Regions from separate parts of the Homo sapiens genome. Here region 2 is linked to region 1. The links are contacts of gene promoters, found by promoter capture Hi-C in human tissues and cell types (Jung and others, 2019). All regions are on one chromosome and are shown on one strand. Each heading gives the region's core, a stretch centred on a gene start or on the middle of the fragment in contact. The rest is flanking DNA. Distances are from core to core; before and after follow the strand shown. Region 1 holds the start of PCSK1 (proprotein convertase subtilisin/kexin type 1). Region 2 overlaps LOC101929710 (a long non-coding RNA gene).

Region 1 (4,602 bases), core at 64-2,563:
CCTAGGGTCCCCTCGGAATCGCTCAGCTATAAGCAGTCTCCCACTTAATGTCTTGACGCCCACCCACCTCCAACCAGCTACCTATCGACCAAGCCTTCACTTGGACAGGCAACAATAAGCTGAAATTCCCGGGAAAACGATTACGTACTTGGCTGAAGAACAAGAAAGAAATAGATCCCTTCCCCATAGTCAGTTCGGCATCTCGACCCTGCAGTGGGACTGGCCGGGCAAAGTTATGAAGCTTGGACTTTATAAGTTCCCAGTGAAAAGCCGGAGCTCCCTAGAGAGTCGCGGGGATAGATGGTCCCGTGTCTTTCACCCACCATTTCTCCCCCCAGCTTCCCAGGCTACTCCGCGGCCTCCCAACCTCCTGGTCGCGAGTCCCAGCAGCTGGCACTCTTCCAATGCCCTGGGCGTGCCCTTACAGGCTGCCAGGGCGGACAGCCCCAAGCCTGCTTAGCCCCTTGCATCAGGACTTGGATCTGATGCTGCCATATTGAAAAGAAGGCAACAGCCGGCTCCTGACGCAGACCGCCTCAGTCCCGGGGGATGGAGCGCACTGCTTCTCCCGGGGGCGCTTGGTTGGTAAGAGCTTGAGTGTATCTCAAGTTCCCTGAACAAGCGTGGAGGGATTTTTCTTCCAAACCGCGCGGGAACGGATTTCAATTCTAGAGCGGCCAACAGTAAGCATAAGCCCTACCCAGCTGCAGCGGCTTCCTTCTGCTTGGCTGCGCCCAGCCTAAACAGTAAATAATGCAAGCTTTCTCTCTCTCCAAGCGCGACAGGGGCGAGGGCTGGAGCAGCTCCTTGCTCTTTGCTACTCTGGGCTCTGGAGAGTGCAACCTGGGGCTCCCACTTGGAAGACCGCGCTCCAGTCCCGCCAGTCCCCTGGGGCCCCAGAAAGTTTCTTGAAAGTGGAAACTCTTACCTGACCCAAAAGGTCATAGCCCAGCTCCTCGGCGATGGCCGAGGCTGCTTCCGGGCCCCCGGGGATCTCCGCTGCCCATTCATTGACAAATTGCCTTTTCGCTTTTGCACTGTTCAGTGCACACCAAGCGCAAAAGAGGACGAAAGCAGTGCACTGCAGACTCCAGGCTCTTCGCTCCATAGCTCACACACTCGCTTGAACAAGAGTGGGAAGGGAAGAGGAAAAAGAAGCAAGATAGGAGAAAAGCCAGACAGACTCCCCCTTCCCACCCTCGGGCTCTAGACCACTCCTGGCTCCTGGTTGCTCTGCGAAGAGCTAGGAGGCGCGAGAGGAGAGGCTGGGCGGCGGCGAGCGCTCAGTGAAGCGCTTCGGTCTCCAGGCTGAGTGGAGCCCCAGCCCTTCCCAGCCAGAATGGAAATGAGTGTTTACACGTCAAATCGACGAAAGCCATCTCTTGACGTCAGATCTACCTGGACTAAGATCCGAATGGTATTCCCGGCGGGGCGGAGAAGCGGCTAAAATAAGCAGCCAGGGATTAGGAAAAGGAAGGAACTGTTTGCTGGGATCAGTTAAGTCTGCTCCTTGTCTGCCCATAAATTCTGTACCGTGAGAAACATTTTCACTTTTCAAAGAGAAGTGCCCCACTTGAACATAACTACCAAGAATCAAAGGCTGGGAGTGCTTTCCCTCCCTTCCATCCATTTTCTCTGTATTTACTTTATTATCTCATGTGTGTGGCGGGGAGGGGGGGAGGCTATAGGATTCTTATAATGGCCCTTTGGGCATCAGCACCTGCTATGAAGAACAAGGCTCTTAGGTCTTTCAAAGAGAGAGGCTAGGAGAGTAAGGAGAAGAAGGGAAGCTACTACTGTCCCAATTCTGTTCTAAATTGTCTGAGAAAATTAGCATGTCTATGTTAAAGCAATACTATTAAAAATGAATTTTTAACCATTCAAGCCACCTTAGTTTACAAGTTTACTTCCCTCCTCCCCTTTGTTTCTCAACCTCAGTAAAACAATATCAGTAGTTATACTCCGATATTGCAAAGCCAGCGCCACCACCACCTTTTAGGGTGTTTATCAGTAAAATGATTAATCATGTGATTTTAAAAAAACATATTTTTAAGAATTCGTCAACAAGGGGATCTAGGATCCCAAAAGCTGTTGTGTTGATTCAGGGAGGGAAAGAGCAGTTTTTATTTACCTCGACTTTCCATTGTGCCTCAGTAGAGCTCTTCACTTTGGTGCTGAGCTGGAGCTGTGCCATTACTTTCCCATAAAATGCACAATGCCTCTTTGTGGAAAAATGGTTTCCTGTGGGAGGAGAGCAAGGAAACATCTAAATGAATTCTCCACCCCTCACCCTAGGGAAGTGAGTTCAGTCTCCCATGGTGGAGCCTATTCGAACCCTGAGGGATTGAACCTGGCGGGAGATACCAGTGCCTAGTATTCAGCACCGAGGTCTGGACAGCGACACACGCAGGACTGCCGCAGGAGCTGCTCTCTCTTCTGAGCACCAAAGACCTCCACCCTTCTGCAGCTGGCCAGCACCAAGCTGTTTTCCTTTTGATATGTGCATTTCCCTCTTTTGAACAGCAAAATAGGAAATTGGCCGCAGGGGGGAGTGTGGTTAGGTTCATGATCGTGACAACTTGTGTCCAGCTCTTGGGAACGTGTTGGACTCAGGCCAAAAGTAAAATCGCCGGGAGGTGGAATTGAGAGAGTATGCTGCACCTGGGAAGTTTGTTTTTTTTTTTGTTGTTGTTGTTGTTGTTTTTTAAAGCTCAACCGCCCGAGGGCGCGATCTATGCTGTAGAAATAGAAGAAAGGGGAGAAGGTTGGAAAGAAAGCATATAAACAAGTGGAGAAAGGAAGCAAGAGATGTTCCTTACAAGAAGCAAATGAGACAAGACTTGGTGGAGGATCAGGCTCTGTAGTGCTAATTTTTCATTTGCCTCCACGTTTGCAGAAATGTGCACTACATAATTTCTTTAAACATAAAGCATCTTTACAAAATCAAATGCCAATGTTAATAAGCCATGTGACATGGTTAAGTGTTTTACAATAATGTAACTCACATGAGATGAAATGGAATGGGCTCCGATTGATAGCTTTGTTGTCTGTTCTGTAAATCCACATGTGTGAATGTTGATGGCTGGGTAAGCTGTCTTCTTTTCCCTTCACACCTCGGCCTGAGTTGTGGCCTCAAGCTCTCAAGGGTGTTTCATTCTCACAGCAGACAGACACTAACTGTGCACTAGCAAGGCAAGAGAAGCCCAGGGCAAATGTTTTATAACGGTAGATGTGTCAGAGGAGGAACATATTTGTCCCTTTCTTATTATTGTTCAAGTAAATCAGTTTGGCAGAGTGTTGGCAATAGGGTCCGTGTCTCTCTCATTAATGAGGCATTTGTCTTAAATGGAGCACCATAGAAGCCTGGAATAAACATTTGGTTTATATACCTAACAGGGCCAAGTAAACTCTCACAAAAAGAAGATAATATCCTCATCCACACAATACAGATATCAGTAAGTTAATCTGCTATTGTCTGATTTTTATCCTATGAACCTCTTTGCCAGAACTTCTGGCATGCAGAAGAAATAAATTTCTGCCAAGACTAGAGGTGCAAGTAGATTTAGAATCCATTTTAACTTTTTGTTTCAAGGGCTAGTCCTACCCTGATTTGTAGATCATGGTAGTGACCTCCAGGCCCATCAGTGTTATATTTCGTATTATAAATTGGAAGAGCCAATTATCACCCTTAAGTTGGTTTTAATAGCATTTGATTCATGTGATTAATTTATATAGAAAACCGGATACTCCAGAAATTAAGAGGACGTGTTTCCATTATAAGTTATCAAGTGATTGCCATGCCTTTCATGATGCTCACAACTGCCCAGTGATACAGCTAAGCATTCATTAAGGTTTCTTGGAGAGTAAAAGAAGCTATTAAGAGCAGGAAGTAAGAATATGCTCAAAGGAGATCTATAGATCACCATATCTCTTTAGTCTTAGGAAACAAATGTTTTAAACATTTTGTTACTACGAAATAAAACATATACCCTTGGGCATACTAAACAATGTACCCAATATTTATCACAAAGTGGACACAGTGTAACCATTTGGGCCAAGAAAAACATTTCTAGACCCACAGAATAACAGAATAATATTCCTAGATCTTCAAGAGATGTTAAAGAATGGGTAAGGAAATAATGTAGGTTTAACATTTTCCAGTTATCATGTAGACTTGCCTGTTTGCTATGGGTAACATTAACTGCACATTAACTCAAAGGTGTAACAAATTAGTCTGTAATTAAACTAGAAGATTTTTGGTAGCAGAACACATTATAGGGGCAAACCTACCTATAGCAGTGTTTTCCAACATAGAAAATAACAATATTTGTGTGGCACACTGGGGTAAACTGGAGGAAATTTGAAGACATCTGTATGGAGCTGGGTGAAGAGATTCATAACATTTTCTTTACATGATACAATTATGATAACAAAATAAAATATAACATTTTGGGCAATACATTAAATTGCATATTAATAACTTTAAATTGAGAAATCTGAATATGCTTTCACCAATATAAGTTTTTATCTGAAGTTTTATGCTTAAAAAGGCTATATATCATTTCTAATTAAAACATTTTAATGACAAATGATCTTTTTATA
Region 2 (4,734 bases), core at 2,235-4,734, 62 kb before region 1:
TAGAAATGCAGAAATCACCCGTCTTCTGCATCGCTCATGCTGAGAGCTGTAGAGTGGGGCTCTTCCTATTCAGCCATCTTGAAATCGCCCCCTCTAGTACGCTTTTATAACATGTTCCTCATTGTCCTTCTCACCCACTTACATAATTTGATTATATAAGTATCCAACATTTTCATAGTCTAATTATGCAAATGTATTCATAACTGAACCTTATAGTATCCTTTAATTACTTTTCTTTTTTTTCCCCTTTCCTTTCCTTCCCTTCCCTTTCCTTTCTGCTTTTCCTTGGAGTTACTAATTACCAATTTTTAAAAATTGTTTGAATTTCTATAGAATTGGCTGGGCACGATAGCTCACTCCTGTAATACCAGCACTTTGGGTGGCCAATGCGGGTGGATCACCTTAGGTCAGGAGTTCGAGACCAGCCTGGCCAACATGGTGAAACCCCGTCTCTACTAAAAATACAAAAATTAGCCGGGCATGGTGACACATGCCTGTAATCCCAACTACTCAGGAGGCTGAGGCAGGAGAATCCTTTGAACCCAGGAGTTGGAGGTTGCAGTGAGCCAAAATTGCACCATTACACTCTAGCCTGGGGCAACAAGAGTGAAACTCCATCTAAAAAAAAAAAAAAACAAAAAAACCTATAGAATTATTCTCAAACTCCACATGTGTAAATCTCAGACACATTCAGTTCTTCCTCTTGGAGCCTTCTGATTCGCTCCAGTAGGAAGTGGCTGATCTCTCAGCCTGCTGCAGAGCTGTGAGCTTGGTATTTCTGTCCACTATCTCTCTGGGATTCTTGTTTTCTCTCTTAACAAGCTCCTGTTCCTTGGATCCTATGTTTTCTTGAATTGCTCCTTCATATTGAGAGAATATCTATTCTATTACTTTTCTGAAAAGTTTTGCAAAGTAATGTTTTTGAAATCTTGCTTGTCTAAAAATAATTTCCTTCTACCCACACCCTTAATTGGCTAGGTAAGAAATTTAAACCTGGAAAGAATTTCTCTTAGTATTTAGAAAGTGTTACTCCATTTTGTTCCTAAAGCTTGGTATTGCTGTTGCATGAAACCTGTTTTCTCACCCATTTGAAAGTGATCTTTTCTTTGTGGTTAGAATTCTGAAACTTTACAATGATTTCTCAATAATCGCTTCAATTATTTAATGATTATTTCATCCATGCACCCTCAATATTCTATATCTCTTTTTTGGACTTTTACTATTTGGATGTTGACCTTATATTGCGTTTTTATCTATATATTTTATATATTTTTTCTATTTCTGATTTCTCGTATATTTATTTAATTTTCTTTTAAATAAATTTTACTTAGTTCTTGATGGATTATTACATAAATCTCTTTATGAGTTTTTCATTTTTTATTCTCCAAATTAGCTTTTTAATATCTATAAGTATTTCTTCTCTTCTGTCTCTGAAAATATCAAACATTTTTGAAGTTTTCTTCTCCTTGTGAAATCTTTGTTTCTTCTAAGTTACTGTTTTTGCTTGTTGGCTTTGTCTTCTAACCTTCAGATTCATGGCTGAAGTTTAGAAGAAGGTCTGGCAGCCCTTAGCTGCCTCTTGGTATTTAACTATGGAGGACCAAAAAGCTTTCTCAGAAGCTGTGTGGCAAAAATTCACTCTGACGTGATCTGGCTGGTTGTTTTGTTAAATGAAAGCCAAAGGTAATTCCTTTAGATCTTTTCTCTTGGGAAGATGATCGTAGAAGAATATGAGAAGACCTTTTAATCTCCTTTCTGATATTTAATTACACAGCTGCCAAAAATCTGAAATCCAAGTAAGGAAATGTGGCTGAGAGTCTCAACATTCAGTAGGTACATTTTACTCAATTCTCCTTGTTTTAGTATGCCACTCCTCCCCTCAAGTGACTCTTTGTCTCTTTATTCCGTTTTATTTTCCTTCTAAGCTCTCTTCACTGCATGACCCACTATATTTTCATCTCTTAGTCTATTTTTGTCTTCAATTAGAATGTAAAGTCAATAATAACAAGTTTTATTTTTCTTCACTGTTGTATCCCCAATGTCTGACAGCTATGCTTTGCACATAGTAGCTGCTCAATAAAAATGTATGTCATGACTTAGGTTAAATAATATGAAATTTCTGCTATTCATCTGGTTTTGAACTTCAAAATGGAAATCTCTTACATTTCAAACTGAATAAAAGAGGATCTGAATGGCTAAGGATTATCACCATTTTCCTTGTGATATGAAACTCATTATAGGAGGTATTAATATATTTTATAGTTTATTATATATAATTAATTTAAAAAATAGTAAATGGAGAAATACAAACTCAGAGAAGTTAAATGTCTTGCTGACTTGCCTAAGATTACACAATATTAGGCAGTACTGTAGTAGAACCAGGACCAGAATTTTGTATGTACCAGGCACTGTTAGAGATTCTGGGGATGAAACAGCGACTGTAATAGACTTCTGGGTATTTCTAGGAGTAAGAGAGACAAAAAAGAAGCAAGCAGCTGTAACAGGGTAGTGAATGAAATTGTTCTTACTTTCTTGAAACTTTAAGCGTCCCAAACTGAGGACAATATGCAATATGGAACCTCATAAACTAAAGAGCAACATGGAGCTGCCAAACACCCCTTCAGGGCCAGACTGGTTCTTTAATTTTCACCCCCCACAACTGCATCCAACCTGTATACACAGAAAACTGAAATTCACAGGCATAGCAGCACTGATTCACAGTAAGGGGTAGGCCTGGAAGTCAACAGTACTGTTGCTTTATTCCAGCTCTCTTCATATTCACGGTAGGGATAGGAAGAGTTTGGATTGTAAGTGCCTAGCCTGCCTGCTTGGACTACACTGTGCAACTGTTGCTTCAGAGAGACCTGATGTGGTGGAATTATGAGAAAACATGTAAAGCAAATCCACAAGCAAAACAATAGAAGAAAGCACATCTAATTCCTATTTTGCCCGTAGAGAAACTGTGAGTAAACTTGAGGTGCTGTCTTAGGGATTCACCTGTTTATGATATAACTCAAATTGGAGAGCTCCCCAACTATGTAGACCTAAATGAAGCCAAGTTAATGTCCACAATACACTCATTCACACTTCCAATTCCGGGTACCTATCTTTACATTTAAAGGAAATGAAGAACATCCGTTAGCAGATGGTAGTCTACATAAGGGCCCATGAAATACACCTGTGTCTTGCAGACCCCAGTTACAAAGGAAACAGCTGTTGACCTGGACCAGCATTTGTTAGTTTTCCATTAGCTCATAGTGTTCACTAGGCCATCTGTAGCATGGAACTAAGTAAATGGAGTCACTTTTCTATGGTTGGCTCATTTCCATAGCTCATTATGTAGGAAGGCTGATAAAGCATTATTGTGCCAAAGCATTAAAAAACTCAAGTTCTGGAAAAGTTTCCAGAAAGGTCATCATTAACAGGGCTAGTCAATAAGCTCCCCACCTCATGTAGATGCTGTACTAATCCTGTGATAGCCCATGGGGGAGGAGACCTCTACTTGAATCGCTGTCAACTGTTGATGAGGAATGGGGCAGAGGCTTAGCATATTCACATTTATTTTCTGATAGCACACTTCCTGCCCTCTCTACCTTTCTTCCTTTCTTCTTCCAGAAACATTTATTGTCACTGACATGGAGATGAAGTATTTTGAACGCTCAAGGTGCAAAATTAAACTTTCCTTTCATTATCTTCTATTAGGAGGCTCTCTGTCTCTTTCACTCACTGGACTGTAAATCACAGGAAAGAAGGAACCATTCTGGGTGTTGGGTTCTTGTTACCTATCATACCATCTGGCACATAGTAGGTGTTCAATAAATACCCATTGGTTGAAAGTATGAAAAAGGAATTTTGATCATGAGCCTAGACAACCAGTCTATACTGGTCTTTAAAAGCACTCCAGATTTACAGGCTGAAAATGGGATTAAAAATCCAAAGACAAACAGAAGAAAAAAACCTTAAACACAGCAGGATTTATGACCATTACAGAGCTAAAAGTACATTATATTCTAATACTAAGGCAGTATACCAGGCTGCCTTTGTTATCATTCATATAAACTCCTCTAGCTCACTTTCTGATTTTTCCTTCCAATAATTTGCCCTTGATTAACTTTGTTTTTTTAAACTAACATTTATTAAGTACCAATATTGTGCAGAAATGCTGTGCATTTGTTTTCTCCTGTAAATTACATGAAGCAACGTTCACCCCAATTTTGGAAATGGGAAAAATTGAAGCTCTCAGAGTTTAAGTAAGTTCTCACAGGTAGTAAATAGAATGGCTAGGATTGGAACCCAGGTTTATGGGCTGCTACAACACAGTTTGTTAAATATCAGGTGGCTCCTTCAGTGTTCCTTGCTATATACCTCACCCTTTTAAATTCCATTTTGGAAAAAATTCCTGAGAACTCTGTTCTTCAGTCCTTTATTTGTTTTTCTTTTGCCCATGAATCTGATTACATATAAGTTATACCCATGACCTTCAGTATTTTGCCAGACCTTGGCCAGGGGTGGCTCTTCTAGCCAATGGATATCATCATGGTGGTTGCCCTCGGAAGACATGAGAACCTGCAGGAGGAGGACTTTGGAAATTTGGAACCCATTGGCCCAGGGAAAGAGCTGAATATTTCTAGGGAGGCCAGACCCACCAGGGACTGCTGCATTGGTCATAAATGTAATACCATGGGACTTAGGCAGAGAACAAGCAAGCCTGATCCCAGAGTTGAGGAATAGCCA

Evidence for each region. The method cuts DNA at HindIII sites, captures the fragments that hold promoters and counts their contacts. A contact is called where the count stands out against the background at its distance.
Region 2: a fragment that was not itself captured here is called in contact with the fragment with the promoter of PCSK1 in region 1 in 1 of the 25 tissues and cell types used here (pancreas).

What each region holds. Positions count from the first base shown.
Region 1 is chr5:96,431,935-96,436,536 of GRCh38, forward strand. PCSK1 (proprotein convertase subtilisin/kexin type 1) reads right to left here and starts at 1,314. Exons shown (of 14, transcript NM_000439.5): 1 at 929-1,314. The coding sequence starts at 1,108. All of the region lies in intron 4 of LOC101929710 (a long non-coding RNA gene), which reads left to right. It also overlaps a transcript of CAST not described here and the pseudogene LOC102724070. RefSeq lists silencers at 2,191-2,485, 2,347-2,466. The HindIII fragment of the contact is 6,406 bases long and covers 501-4,602 here.
Region 2 is chr5:96,367,881-96,372,614 of GRCh38, forward strand. The region is part of intron 3 of LOC101929710 (a long non-coding RNA gene); the gene reads left to right. It also overlaps a transcript of CAST not described here. Among named protein-coding and RNA genes, the nearest start is that of PCSK1, 63 kb to the right of the region's middle. The HindIII fragment of the contact is 8,912 bases long and covers 1-4,734 here.